5 separate regions of the Homo sapiens genome follow, and all the other regions are linked to region 4. The links are contacts of gene promoters, found by promoter capture Hi-C in human tissues and cell types (Jung and others, 2019). All regions are on one chromosome and are shown on one strand. Each heading gives the region's core, a stretch centred on a gene start or on the middle of the fragment in contact. The rest is flanking DNA. Distances are from core to core; before and after follow the strand shown.

Region 1 (2,700 bases), core at 160-2,659, 630 kb before region 4:
ATAGATTTATTCAGCTGATAGTTTAAAAAGCTCAAAGGTGGCTTTTGCTGTTCAGGCATGCTAATGTGTGACCCATCATACTAAAGTTAATGGAACTATTTTAGACTTTAGCAGAAAATGGATAGGATAACTGAGGAGAGTGGATTTTGTTGGACAAGAAAAAAAAGGAGGAGAAGGAAAAAGAGAGAAGTTGACTTAAAATGGAATGTTATACATACATCCTTTTTTTGTTCAGTTACAAGGCTAGAATATGACAAATATTTTACAAGGGGTCTGGTAGAGTCAGTAGCTTAAGAACACAAGAGCAGATTTTCCATTATAAATCTTTCTCACAACCAGAAATGTGAGTTGTTCATAAAATTCTGGTTTGGTTTAATTTTTGACACAGGATGCAGAAGTAGATGGAGAGGATGCTACCAAGCCTGAAGAAGAGGATGGTGAAGTAAAATATCCCCCAATAGTGATCAAAAGCACATTTCCTGAGGAAATGCAAAGATTTATGCCCCCAGGGGATAACGTCCACACTGTCATTTTGGATTTCACTCAAGTCAATTTTATTGATTCTGTTGGAGTGAAAACTCTGGCAGGGGTAAGCATCCTCTTGAACGAGTCATTTAATACCTCTATGCCTGGTGTCGTACTATCAGCATAATCAGGGAGGTGGGCTAGGCTCTCTTTTCAACAAAAGATTTATCCCCTTTTGATTATGGAAAATTTCAAAAATATATAGAAGTAAAGATTTTAGTATATTGAACCCCCGTGAACTATCACTCAGCTTCAACAATGATCAATTTATGGTCAATCTGGTTTCCTTTATAGCTGACATTCACTTTCTCTTGTTTTATTTTGAAACACATCCCAGTCATAACATCATCTGTAAATATTTTAATGTGTATTGCTACAAGAAGATTCGTTTTAGAAAACATTACTGTAATATGCTAGGCTACTCAGGAGGCTGAAGCAGGAGGATTGCTGAGCTCAGGAGTTCAAGACCAGCATGAGTAAACTAGTGAGATGCTGTCTCTAAAAAAAATCGTTTTTTATTTTGAAATTATAATATCCTTTAAGTTAATATAATAGTTTTATTGTACTTAAGTAAGATTTAACAGTATTTTTGCTACCCCTAATTATCACTGTCCACATAAAAAGCAAAAGAGATACAAAATTATTTTTAACTGATTAGCTCAAAAATACATCATTATTGAAGCAAAGTAGCTCAAGTGAATGAATTAGAGTGTCTTCTATCACGAAAAACATTGGTAAAAAGAGACTTTCATCTGGCACAGAGTAAAGAGAAACTAAATTTTATTTCAACATTATTACAGATTGTAAAAGAATATGGAGACGTCGGTATATATGTATACTTAGCAGGATGCAGTGGTGAGTATACCTCTAAGATGGGGTGAAGCTTAATATTTTAGTTTTGTTTCTCTTATTTAAATAATTGCACTTGGAAATGTCCTTAATTTTAATTATTTTATAAAAATGAAAATTGTTCTTCTGAAAAATCACTCTAAAGCCAGCTTTGAAATTAGCCACATGGAGGCATTCATATTACAAGTTACTTGTGACAACCCTCCTGAACTGGAGTTGGAGGAAAGGAGCCAATAAGCCATCATTTATTATAATATTAATGGCTGCTATAAATATAGTAATTATAATATATACATGACCACAGTAGCAATTATCTAATGGCTGCCATAAACAGTTACATATAATCATTCAGGTTGCTTGTTTCTCTATCCAATCATTTGGGAATACTTTGCCTGCTATTTTTGTTTTATATTACATTTTGGTTAAAACAGTGCTTGAGGCCGGGTGTTGTGACTCACACCTGTAATCCCAGCACTTCGGGAGGCCAAGGCAGATGGATTGCCTGAGCCTAGGAGTTCAAGACCAGCCTGGGCAACATGGCAAAACCCCATCTCTACTAAAAATACAAAAATTAGCCAGACATGGTGGCGCATGCCTGTAATCCCAGCTACTCGGGAGGCTGAGGTGGGAGGATGTCTTGAATCTGGGAGGCAGAAGTTGCAGTGAGCCAACATCACGCCACTACACTCCAGCCTGGGCAACAGAATGAGACCTTGTTTCCAAAAAAAAAAGAAAGAAAATGATTTTTTAGAAAAGGAGCCCGGCGTGGTGGCTCACACCTGTAATCCCAGCACTTTGGGAGGCTGAGGCAGGCGGATCACCTGAGGTCAGAAGATCGAGACCATCTTGGCTAACACGGTGAAACCCCATCTCTACTAAAAATACAAAAAATTAGCCCGGCTTGGTGGCGCATGACTTTAGTCCCAGCTACTCGGAAGGCTGAGGCAGGAGAATCGCTTGAACCCAGGAGGCGGAGGTTGCAGTGAGCCGAGATTGCACCACTGCTCTCCAGGCTGGGTGACAGAGTAAGACTCCGTCTCAAAAAAGAAAAGGAAAAAAAAAAAGTAAAACAGTGCCTGAGGCTGGGTGTGGTGGCTCACACCTATAATCCCAACACTTTGGGAGGCCAAGGTAGGAGGATCGCTTGAGCCTAAGAGTTCAAGACCAGCCTAAGCAACATAGTGAGATCCCATCTTTATTTAAAAGAAAAAATAATAATAATTTTAAAAAGTGCTTGAAAATGAAATCTTCATAAAGATGCTACTTTTCACCTGTAAGATTGCCAAAAATCAAAAATAAATGACACCATGCTCCATAGGCATATGA
Region 2 (2,700 bases), core at 179-2,678, 540 kb before region 4:
CTAGTTTTGGGTGGAGAGCTCTTATCTTGCAGTAGAAATTTAATGGTAAAAGTATTTTTTTTAATTCCCATCAAATCTATAGGGTGGCATGAAACTCTTCTATTATTGATCTCTTTTTAGTTTTAGTTTGTGATAGGCAGAATTCTAAGATGTCCCCCAATAATCGAAGCCCCTTTATAATCCCCTCCCTATGGAATCTTATTCCTATGATTAGGTTACATTATACAGCAAAGGTGAAGGGATTTTTCAAATGTCAAGAAAGCTCCTAATCAATTGACTTTAAGTTAATCACCTAGGAGGTTATCCTGGGTGGACTTTACCTAATCAGTTGAACCCTTTGTTAGAAGATCTAGAGGTAAGAGATTCTCCCTGCTGGCCTTAAAGAAGCAAGCCACCAGGAGTTCTACAGCTGCCAGGAAATGAATTCTTCCAACAGCTTTGTGAACTTTGAAGAGGACCCCAAACCTTAGATAAGACCCCAGCCCTGGCTGATGCATTGATTGCAGCTTTGTGAGACCCTGAGCAAAGGACCCATTCTCGGACTCTTGACCCATGAAAACTGTGAAATACCATAAGCCACTAGGCTCATGTTAACTTATAATGCAGCAATATAGACAAATACCCTATTTAATCTCCAAAAGTGTCTGGGTGCAGTGGCTCATGCCTGTAATCCCAGCACTTTGGGAACCTGAGGGGGGCAGATCCCTTAAGGCCAAGAGTTCAAGACCAGCCTGGTCAACATGGTGAAACTCCACCTCTACTAAAAATAGTAAAATATTAGCTGGATGTGGTGGCAAGCATCCGTAATCTCAGCCACTCGGGAGGCTGAAGCATGAGAATCACTTGAACTCAGGAGGCAGAAGTTGCAGTGAGCTGAGATCGCGCCACTGCATTCCAGCCTGGTCAACACTGCGAGACTCTGTCTCAAAAAAAAAAAAACCTCCAGAAATGTGGCAGTCTGTTGCAGAGTGGCTGTTTTGTTACCTTGCTTTTATTGCCAGTCTCTTTCAATATGTCCTACCAACTAGACAAGGATAGACAGAAAAGAAAAAAAAAAAATACCACTTAATATCAGGTTCTAAGCCTATATTTTGCATATCAAAGGAGTATAAATAGAAATTCCTACCTTGATCTCCCATTTCCTGCCCAAAATATAAGTTTTTCCCATCTAAGACAATTCATTACCAGATTCTTTTTTGTTTGTTTGTTTGAAATGGAGTTTCGCTCTTGTTGCCCAGGCTGGAGTGCAATAGCACAATCTCAGCTCACCACAACCTCCGCCTCCTTGGTTCAAGTGATTCTCCTGCCTCAGCCTCCCGAGTAGCTGGGATTATAGGCGTGCACCACCACGCCCAGCTAATTTTGTATTTTTAGTAGAGATGGGGTTTCTCCATGTTGGTCAGGCTGGTCTCAAACTCCCGACCTCAGGTGACCCACCTGCCTTGGCCTCCCAAAGTGCTGGGATTACAGGCGTGAGCCACCAGTCCCGGCCATCAAATTCTGTTAATTCTACCTCTAAAATGTATCCCAAGTCCATCTTTTTCTTTCAATCCCCATTCCACACTAGTTAAACCACCATCACTTACGATCCAGACAATTAAAACCAGCCTCCTACCTGGCTTCTCAGCATTGCCTCTTTCCCTCCTCTAACTCATTCCTGACCAGTCCAAAGTGATACTAAAATGCTGGGGGGAAGATTACATCACTTCAAAGGTGCCCCATTGTCCAAAATCCAGAGTGATCTGGGCCCTCAAAATAATCTTTTTTTTTTTCTTTTTTGAGACAGACTCTTGCTCTATCACCCAAGCTGGAGGGCAGTGGCGTGATCTCGGCTCACCACAACCTCCGCCTCCTGGGTCAAGCAATTCTCCTGCCTCAGCCTCCCGGGTAGCTGGGATTACAGGCACACACCACTGTGCCTGGGTAATGTTTGTGTTTTTAGTAGACAAAACACTATAGGGTTTCACCATGTTGGCCAGGCTAGTCTCAAACTCCTGACTTCAGGTGATCCACCTGTCTCGGCCTCCCAAAGTGCTGGGATTACAGACATGAGCCACTGCACCTGGCCTCAAAATAATCTTGACCTGTTTTTCTCATGCGCAATACAAGTGGGTTTATTTGTTCGGTTTGTTTGGAGTTTTAATGGATCTTTTCCTTCCTATTTTTATTGATATTTTTAAAAAATAGAAAATAATGTGCTTTCAACAAACTCATAGATCTAATAAGTGATTATGGCAAGGTTGAATTATAGCAAGGTTAGAGGATACAAGATTAATACTTTAAAAGACCGTTGCTTTCCTTTATACCAGAAATGAACAATTGGAATTTGAAATAAACAGATATATCATCACTAATAAAAGAAAAAAGAACAAATAGGTTTAAACAAAATATTCACAAAAGCTATATAAGGTAAACTACAAAACTTTGACGAAATAAATCAAAGAAGATCTAAATAAATGGAGAGATAGTCCGTGTTCATGGATAGGTAGACTCAATATTGTGAGGATGTCTGTTCTTCCCAACTTGATCTATATATTCAATGCAAACACAACCAAAATTCCAGCCAGTTACTTGTGGCTAAGAACAAACTGATTCTAAGGTTTATTTAAAGGCAGAAAACCCAAAATAGCCAACACAGTATTAAAGAGGAAAAACAGTCAGAGGACTTACACTACCCAACTTCAAAACTTACTACAGAAC
Region 3 (2,700 bases), core at 1-2,500, 560 kb before region 4:
GGCCAGCTTGCTAGATAAATTCTGCAAGGAAAAAAAAATTCCAAGAGAATTTTAATTATACATGTCCAAAATACAGAAAGAAAAATGGAGTGTGTGGAAAATAGTGAATATCCTTAGAGGCTGTTTCCTAGTTTTATTCAACATCTCAGTAGTAGAGTTAAAATTCAGTATGACTAAGAATTGTGTTTATTATCTCACTTACCCAGTGCACCCCCTGGAGAAATTCATGTTATAAAAGCAATGAGTCCTTATAATTAATGTAGTAGCTATACCTACTTCTAAAACTAGATGGCTATTATCAACCCAATTTCTAGGACTCTTGGCTACATACGCTTAAAGATTCAAAGTTATATTGCATATGAAGCTTAAGATTATTTAGATGAAATGTATTTTGGAGAAATCTATGAGTAAAGACAAATCTATACAATGTGTTTTGAAATAATTCCAACTTACAAAAAAGTTGCAAAAACAGTACAGAGAATTTCATTTATCTAGATTCCCTGTTATTTTACCATGTTTGCTTTATTCTCTTTATACAAGTTTTTTCAACTGAGTTTTAGATGTGATGCTTCTTGCCCCAAATACTTTAGTATGTACTTGTGAAAAACAAGGAAATTAATGTTCTTACATCACCTTGGTATAGTTCCTCAGTATCTGTGGAGAATTGGTTCCCAGATCCCTGTGGATACCAAAATCCACAGATGCTAGAGCCCTCATGTAATATGGTATATGTAATATTTGCATATAAGCACATTCTCCTGTATACTTTAAATCATCTCTAGATAAATACCCAATCCATGTAAATGCTATGTAAATAGTTGTTATACTATATTGTTTAGGAAGTGACCAAAAAAAAAGTCCATACATGTTTAGTACAGATGCAACCATCCATTTGTTCCCCAAAATTTTCCACCTATGGTTGGTTGAATCCACGGATATGGAACCCACAGATATAGAGGGCCTACTGACTATTAAAATTAGGATATTAACATTGACATAGTACTTCTAGCTAATTCTGTCCTTATTCAAATTTTGCCACTAATAAACTTTGTGGCAAAGAAAAAAAGAAACTTTTTCTGGCCCACATGCAATCCAGGATCAGTTTATATTTTTAAGTCAGAATTCACAGTACAAGACTCTATTCTGCCACTTTAAAAAAGGATTCTTACAAAGAACTTATATTTAAGAAAACATGATAATCTTCCATCTGTTATGGAAAATTTCTTTTAAAATCACTTACCATTCCTCCCCCAAAAGAGCGATCCCAGTTGCCAATCAGCGTGTTTGCAACCATGAGACAGATTGTATCTGGATGTGCCCAACCAACAGCTTCAACAGCTATTGCAAGGTGCGCCAAAGGCATCTTGTCATCCCTCACACGAATCTAGTTAAGATAAAGCAGGAGGACCTCTAGTTAAGATTAACATTATATAACATGCTTATTAACAAGGAAAAAATCACCAGTCCCATTAACTGCAAAGTTAAAATGCACACCAGGACTCTATTTTGATTTTTTAACTATCAGGCCTCATTACATTGTTGAGTTTAATCTAGAAGAATTAAGACTAAATTAGGGAAAAATTACTTTTCCCAAAGCATTTTACTACAGACAGGCACCACATGGTTTACCTGGTCAAAAGGGTTGCATCATTTCACTGGTAGAAATCAATCCTTTGTGTTTGTCAATCTGAATTTGTCTTTTTCTTTCTTTTTTTTTGAGACAGAGTCTCACTCTGTCGCCCAGCCTGGAGTGCAGTGGCACCATCTCGGCTCACCGCAACCTCGGCCTCCCATGTTCAAGCAATTTTGCCTCAGCCTCCCGAGTAGCTGGGACTACAGGCATGCACCACCACGCCCAGCTAATTTTTGTATTTTTAGTAGAGACGGAGTTTCACCATGTTGGTGAGGCTGGTCTCAAACTCCTAACCTCAAGTGACACACTCGCCTCAGCCTCTCCAAGTGCTGGGATTACAGGCGTAAGCCACCGCACCCGGCCTCAATCTGAACTTTTCTATTGAAATGTCATATTGACGTTACAGGTTTATTTTTGTACTGCCAATGCTACAGTTCTAGGCAGCTGCCAATATCAGGGCATTTTCCAGATACTACTTTGAGCATCATCCTCAACATGGCAAACTAAGCAGCTAGTGGGGCTTAAAGCTAGTTGATAACTAGTAGATCCCCTGCAAGTTCTGGCTCTAACAGTTACTACCCCCTCCCAAAACATACTGTGGGCAAAACTGAGCCAAGAGTAAACCTGAAGTGAAAGTCAAAATACGGGGTTTAAAAGATTACTTCCAGATATTACAATATGTAAATTGGCATAGTGCCAAAGAAAAAGCACAAAAAGACCAAATTATAAACTGCTCTTAAAAACTTTGCTTCCTTTCAGACTAGAATGGAGAAATTTAAAAACAAAACAAAAAAAACCTTGCTTCCTTAGGAAGAAAAATAGGTGGTTAAAGAATACGGAAGAGGAAGGAATGTAAGCAAATGAGTACATCCTCTTCCCTTTTCCTATTATTCCATTCTTTTCCTACTGGAAATATGCACATTTTGTTTACTTATGTGTAAATACAACACAAGGAATCCAAAAGGCTAAATACTAGCTGGAAGGCTTGCCCTACCTCACTTCCTGTGAATTTGCAGGGAGGCAGAGCTGGTATTTCTCCTTTGTGTGTGCATAAAGAGTCACCGAAA
Region 4 (2,700 bases), core at 174-2,673:
TTGGGCAACTCTAAGCATTATAAAAGATGATCTTAAAAATGCTAAATGCTATTATTATTACTATCATCATCATCATCAATATCTTCCATCAGTCCCAGGAAGAATGACAGTCTGGGGAGCCCTTCCTAGAAAAGTGTGTGTACACAGTGGCTTGCCATTTAGGAAAAGCTAAGAAAGGTATCTTGCAGGCATTATTATTGAAGCTTCCTAGGCAGGCTTACCATGTGTTTTTCTTCAAAGCTTGCTACTCATGGAAAACTTAGGCCAAAAAGAATGGAAATATAACAGTAAGAAGCTGGGCGCCCGTCTAAAACCAAATACTCAAACCAGGTGATACCCGGAACATCCTATTGACAGGGCTGTTTTGGGACAGACCCCCAGGCTGTGAGCAAGATGAAATGTAGATGGACTGCCATACCATTGAATGAATTGTCAAGAAACTTCAACCTTGAAAAATAAGCCAGTTTGCTAATGACAACGGGATAAAGGAGAACACAAGCGGCTCCAGAAATAGAATTTGACCTGGATTATACCAAATCATGTTTCCATTCGATGTATAAAATTTCTATAATTGGGAACCTAATTTTTAAATACTACTCGGACACTCAAGAACAGAACAGAGGAAAAGGTGCATTTCCGAAGGGGCCAACTGTAAATTAGGTTTAGAGAGCCAGGACCAATTAAAAGTGCACGTCGACCACATTTATTAAGTTCACTGTGCGTTCCCTGGGACCCAAACCCGTTTTCACTTCACTTCACTTGCCAAACTTCAGGGGCGCGTTCACCTCCACGGACGCCTGGGGGTGGATAGTATCAGACACAATGGCCATCTCCTCCAGATCCTCGTCGTACTTCACCTGCAGGCCGTCCAGGCCCCGCACGCCGCCCTCCACGCCGCACACCGCGACCAGCACGCGGTCGCCATCCGGGTAGGTGAGGGGGTCCAGGGGCCTCACGGCCAGGTGGCACGGGAGCCGCGCCCGCAGCCGACCAAACGGGCTCACCTGCAGTGTCCACTCCTTCAGAGTTCGGCGCCCCGGGCCAGGCGGAGGGACCTCAGTCTCCGATCCGGGCCAGCGCTCGCTCCCACCTGAGCTGTACGGCCTGGCTTGGCAAGCCCAGCAAGCCCAGCGCCCAGCGCCAGCCCACAGTCGGACCTGACGGAGACAGAGACGGAAGCAGCCAAGCTCCCAACCTGAGCAGGGGGCAAGCATGGCGCGCCTCTCTCGCCAGTCCTCAGAACACTTCAGCCACAGGGAGGGTCACTTGCCACGGCCAATCGACTTGGCCACTGTGCCGCCTCAAGTCAAATAGGAGACGTAAGTCAGGGTTTGCTGAAACAAGAGCGAGCCGGTTGGCTTGACTAGGCGTTCTAAACATCAGCCGCGCAATCCCCAGGGGCAAGTTGGGATTTGAAAGCTCTAAACTCTGACCTGGACCCCTTGCCTAAGTCCACCCCCTTTCGCTAAGGCCGACGGGATAGGTAGTTCTAAGTCGCAGAGCTCTGCCTCTTAGAAACCACATTTCCCAGGAGGCAATGCGCAGGGGAGCACGGGTAAGAGGGTAGGTGTTAGAATCGCTGGAAAGGCGGGCGCCCTTTGTCTCAAGACCATTGGCTATTGGAGGGGCGGTACATGGGAGTCCACTGGCCAATGGGAAGCACGGAAGGGGCAACGCGGGTAAAGCTGCGTGGTCACCTTGGATACCAAGCACGCGACTTCTTGGTTGGAGAGGGTGGAGCTTTGGAGTGAGACCCAGGACGCCAAATCCCAAAGAGAAAAATAGGAGCCTAAATAAGGATCAGGACCAAGGGAAGGGGTAAGAAACTGCGCTTTTTAAGATGACAACTAGGTGCAAACTAGGAGTAACCTCTGTGGATGTCAACATCCAAGCTTCACTAACTTAGTGAGGGCATCTCCAGGGCATGGAGAATGCCTTGGTAAGAAAGTAAAGAGCAAGATTGGTGCTTTTTGAGGGAATTGCCTCTTTGGAAGTGTATTCCCTCCTATATTCCAAATATAGGAATAGAGTACTTGCTCCGTCCTGACCCTAAGTGACCTTACTTTGGGTTTTAATTTGCTCACTTTAAAAATGTAGATAATAATACCTTCCTTGCCTTGCCTCAAAGGGTTTTTGTAAGGATCAAGTAAGAAAATGGATGGGACCGTGGTGCACAGTCTACAAAATTACCGTGTAAAGAACTGTATTTTTATTTCAACGTACTTAACATTGATTCTGAGTTACCAAGAAAATTATGAGAGATCAGAACTTGTTTTGAGAATAGCATTGATCTCTTTGACTACAAATGATCCTCAGTTTTAGAGTGAAAAAAAAAAAAAAGACACAAAAAAGAGAGTCACCATGGTGCGGTGGAAAGAGCAGGGACAAGGGTCAGGTTATTTTCCTGGCTCTGCCACTGCTTCATCTGTGTCACCTAGACCTGTTTCTTTAGTTTTAAAATGAAGAAAGATGGTTCTAAATGACCCTATAAGGGGTGTGTGTGTGTGTGTGTGTGTGTGTGTGTGTGTGTTTACCTTTTATAATTCTATAGGCAGTAAAATAATGGGAACAGAAAGATTTATTTTCTTCTTTTTTCTTTTTTTCTTCTTTCCTGCCTGGTTTCTCTCTCCCCCTCTGTGCCCCTACTTCCTCCTAAAATGTATTCCCTAAATTATTTAGCCAAGACACCTGCAAACACTA
Region 5 (2,700 bases), core at 145-2,644, 660 kb before region 4:
ATCCGGCTCACCTCATTGGGCATGGTTAGACAATGGATGCAGCCCACAGAGGGCAAGCTGAACCAGGGTGGGGCATCACTTCACCCAGGAAGCGCAAGGGGTCAGGGAATTCCCTCCCTTAGCCAAGGGAAGCTGTGAGGTACTGTGCTGTGAGGAACAGTGCATTCTGGCCCAGACACTATGCTTTTCTCATGGTCTTCACAACCCACAGACTAGGAGACTCCCCTGGGTGCCTACACCACCAAGATTCCCTTGGATTTCAAGCACAAAACTGGGCAGCTATTTGGGCAGACACTGAGCTAGCTGCAGGAGTTTTTTTCATACCCCAGTGGTGCCTGGAACACCAGTGAGACAGAGCCATTCACTCCCTTGGAAAGGGGGCTAAAGGCAGGGAGCCAAGTGGTCTAGCTCAGCGGATCCCACCCCTGCAGAGCCCAGAAAGCTAAGCTCCATTGGCTTGAAATTCTCACTGCCACCACAGCAGTCTGAAGTCAACCTGGGACGCTTGAGCTTGGTGGGGGGAGGGGCATCTGCCATTACTGAGGCTTCAGTAGGCGGTTTTCCCCTCACAGTGTAAACAAAGCCACCTGGAAGGTCCAACTGGGTGGATTCCACCGCAGCTCAGCAAAGCTGCTGTAGCCAGACTGCTTCTCTAGATTCCTCCTCTCTGGGCAGGGCATCTCTGAAAGAAAGGCAGCAGCCACAATCAGGGGCTTATAGATAAAACTCCCATCTCCCTGGGACAGAGAACCTGGGGGAAGGGGCAGCTGTGGGCGCAGCTTCAGCAAACTTAAACATTCCGGTCTGCCAGCTCTGAAGAGAGCACCAGATCTCCTAGCACAGCATTCGAGCTCTGCTAAGGGTCAGACTGCCTTCTCAAGTGGGACCCCCGTAACTCCTGACTGGGAGACACCTCCCAGTAGGGGCCAAAGACACCTCATCCAGGGGATCTCTGGCTGGCATATGGCGGGTGCCCCTCTGGGACAAAGCTTCTGGAGGAAGGAACAGGTAGCAATCATTGCTGTTCTGCAGCCTTCGCTGGTGATACCCAGGCAAACAGGGTCTGGAATGGACGTCAGCAAACTCCAGCACACCTGTAGCAGAGGGGCCTGACTGTTAGAAGGAAAACTAACAAACAGAAAGGAATAGCATCAACATCAACAGAAAGGACGTCAACATAAAAACCCCATCCGAAGGTCACCAAGAGCAAAGACCAAAGGTAGATAAATCCATGAAGATGAGGAAAAACCAATGCAAAAAGCTGAAAATTCCAAAAGCCAGAACACCTCTTCTCCTTCAAAGGATCACAACTCTTCACCAGCAAGGGAACAAAAGTGGATGGAGAATGAGTTTGACGAATGGACAGAAGTAAGCTTCAGAAGGTGGGTAATAACAAACTCCTCCGAGCTAAAGGAACATATTCTAACCCAATGCAAGGAAGCTAAGAACCTTGAAAAAAGGTTAGAGGAATTGCTAACTAGAATAACCAGTTTAGAGAAGAACATAAATGACTTGATGGAGCTGAAAAACACAGCACAAGAATTTCATGAAGCATACACAAGTATAAATAGTCAAATCAAACAGAAGAAAGGGTATCAGAGATTGAAGATCAACTTAATGAAATATAGTGTAAAGACAAGATTAGAGGAAAAAAAAAGAATGAAAAGGAATGAACAAAGCCTCCAGGAAATATGGGACTGTGTGAAAAGACCAAACCTACGTTTGACTGGTGTACCTGAAAGTGACGGGGAGAATGGAACCAAGTTGGAAAACACTCTTCAGGACATTATCCAGGAGAACTTCCACAACCTAGCAAGACAGGCCAACAGTCAAATTCAGGAAATACAGAGAACACCACAAAGATACTCCTCAAGAAGAGCAACCCCAAGACACATAATCATCAGATTCACCAAGGTTGAAATGAAGGAAAAAATGTTAAGGGCAGCCAGAGAGAAAGGTCGGGTTACCCACAAAGGGAACCCCATCAGACTAATAGCGGATCTATCTGCAGACACCCTACAAGCCAGAAGACAGTGGGAGCCAATATTCAACATTCTTAAAGAAAATTTTCAAACCAGAATTTCACATCCAGCCAAACTAAGCTTCATAAGCAAAGGATAAATGAAATCCTTTACAGACAAGCAAATGCTGAGAGATTTTGTCACCACCAGGCCTGCCTTACAAGAGCTCCTGAGAAAGCACTAAATGTGGAAAGGAAAACCCGGTACCAGCCACTGCAAAAACAAATGAAAATGTAAAAAGCATCGATACTGTGAAGAAACTGCATCAACTAATGGGCAAAATAACCAGCTAGCATCATAATGACAGGATCAAATTCACACATAACAATATTTTTTTTTTTTGAGACAAAGTCTTGCTCTTGTCCCCCAGGCTGGAGTGCAATGGTGCGATCTCGGTTCACTGCAACTTCCGCTTCCCGGGTTCAAGCAATTCTCCTGCTTCAGCCTCCTGAGTAGCTGGGATTACAGGTGCCTGCCACCACGCCCAGCTAGTTTTTGTATTTTTAGCAGAGACTGGGTTTCACCATGTTGGCCAGGCTGGTCTCGAACTCCTGACCTCAGGTGATCTGCCTGCCTTAGCCTCCCAAAGTGCTGGGATTACAGGCGTGAGCCACCGCACCTGGCCCACGCATAACAATATTAACCTTAAATGTAAGAGGGCTAAATGCCCCAACTGAAA

Evidence for each region. The method cuts DNA at HindIII sites, captures the fragments that hold promoters and counts their contacts. A contact is called where the count stands out against the background at its distance.
Region 1: a contact is called between a fragment that was not itself captured here and the fragment with the promoter of FAM185A in region 4, in 2 of the 25 tissues and cell types used here (hippocampus and lymphoblastoid cells).
Region 2: a fragment that was not itself captured here is called in contact with the fragment with the promoter of FAM185A in region 4 in 1 of the 25 tissues and cell types used here (neural progenitor cells).
Region 3: a fragment that was not itself captured here is called in contact with the fragment with the promoter of FAM185A in region 4 in 2 of the 25 tissues and cell types used here (dorsolateral prefrontal cortex and thymus).
Region 5: a fragment that was not itself captured here is called in contact with the fragment with the promoter of FAM185A in region 4 in 1 of the 25 tissues and cell types used here (liver).

Annotation. Positions count from the first base shown.
Region 1 is chr7:103,375,488-103,378,187 of GRCh38, reverse strand. SLC26A5 (solute carrier family 26 member 5) reads left to right here. Exons shown (of 20, transcript NM_198999.3): 18 at 389-589; 19 at 1,326-1,380. Among named protein-coding and RNA genes, the nearest start is that of PSMC2, 29 kb to the right of the region's middle. The HindIII fragment of the contact is 3,745 bases long and covers 1-2,700 here.
Region 2 is chr7:103,288,164-103,290,863 of GRCh38, reverse strand. No RefSeq gene overlaps it. Among named protein-coding and RNA genes, the nearest start is that of PMPCB, 7.9 kb to the left of the region's middle. The HindIII fragment of the contact is 9,549 bases long and covers 1-2,700 here.
Region 3 is chr7:103,307,636-103,310,335 of GRCh38, reverse strand. It overlaps PMPCB (peptidase, mitochondrial processing subunit beta), which reads right to left. Exons shown (of 13, transcript NM_004279.3): 7 at 2,628-2,700; 8 at 1,241-1,384; 9 at 1-21. Among named protein-coding and RNA genes, the nearest start is that of PMPCB, 12 kb to the right of the region's middle. The HindIII fragment of the contact is 4,844 bases long and covers 1-2,700 here.
Region 4 is chr7:102,747,722-102,750,421 of GRCh38, reverse strand. FAM185A (family with sequence similarity 185 member A) reads right to left here and starts at 1,423. Exons shown (of 8, transcript NM_001145268.2): 1 at 764-1,423. The coding sequence starts at 1,214. It also overlaps the pseudogene RASA4DP. RefSeq lists silencers at 1,434-1,603, 1,644-1,733 and an enhancer at 1,406-1,700. The HindIII fragment of the contact is 9,642 bases long and covers 1-2,700 here.
Region 5 is chr7:103,403,847-103,406,546 of GRCh38, reverse strand. The region is part of intron 8 of SLC26A5 (solute carrier family 26 member 5); the gene reads left to right. Among named protein-coding and RNA genes, the nearest start is that of SLC26A5-AS1, 40 kb to the left of the region's middle. The HindIII fragment of the contact is 3,935 bases long and covers 1-2,700 here.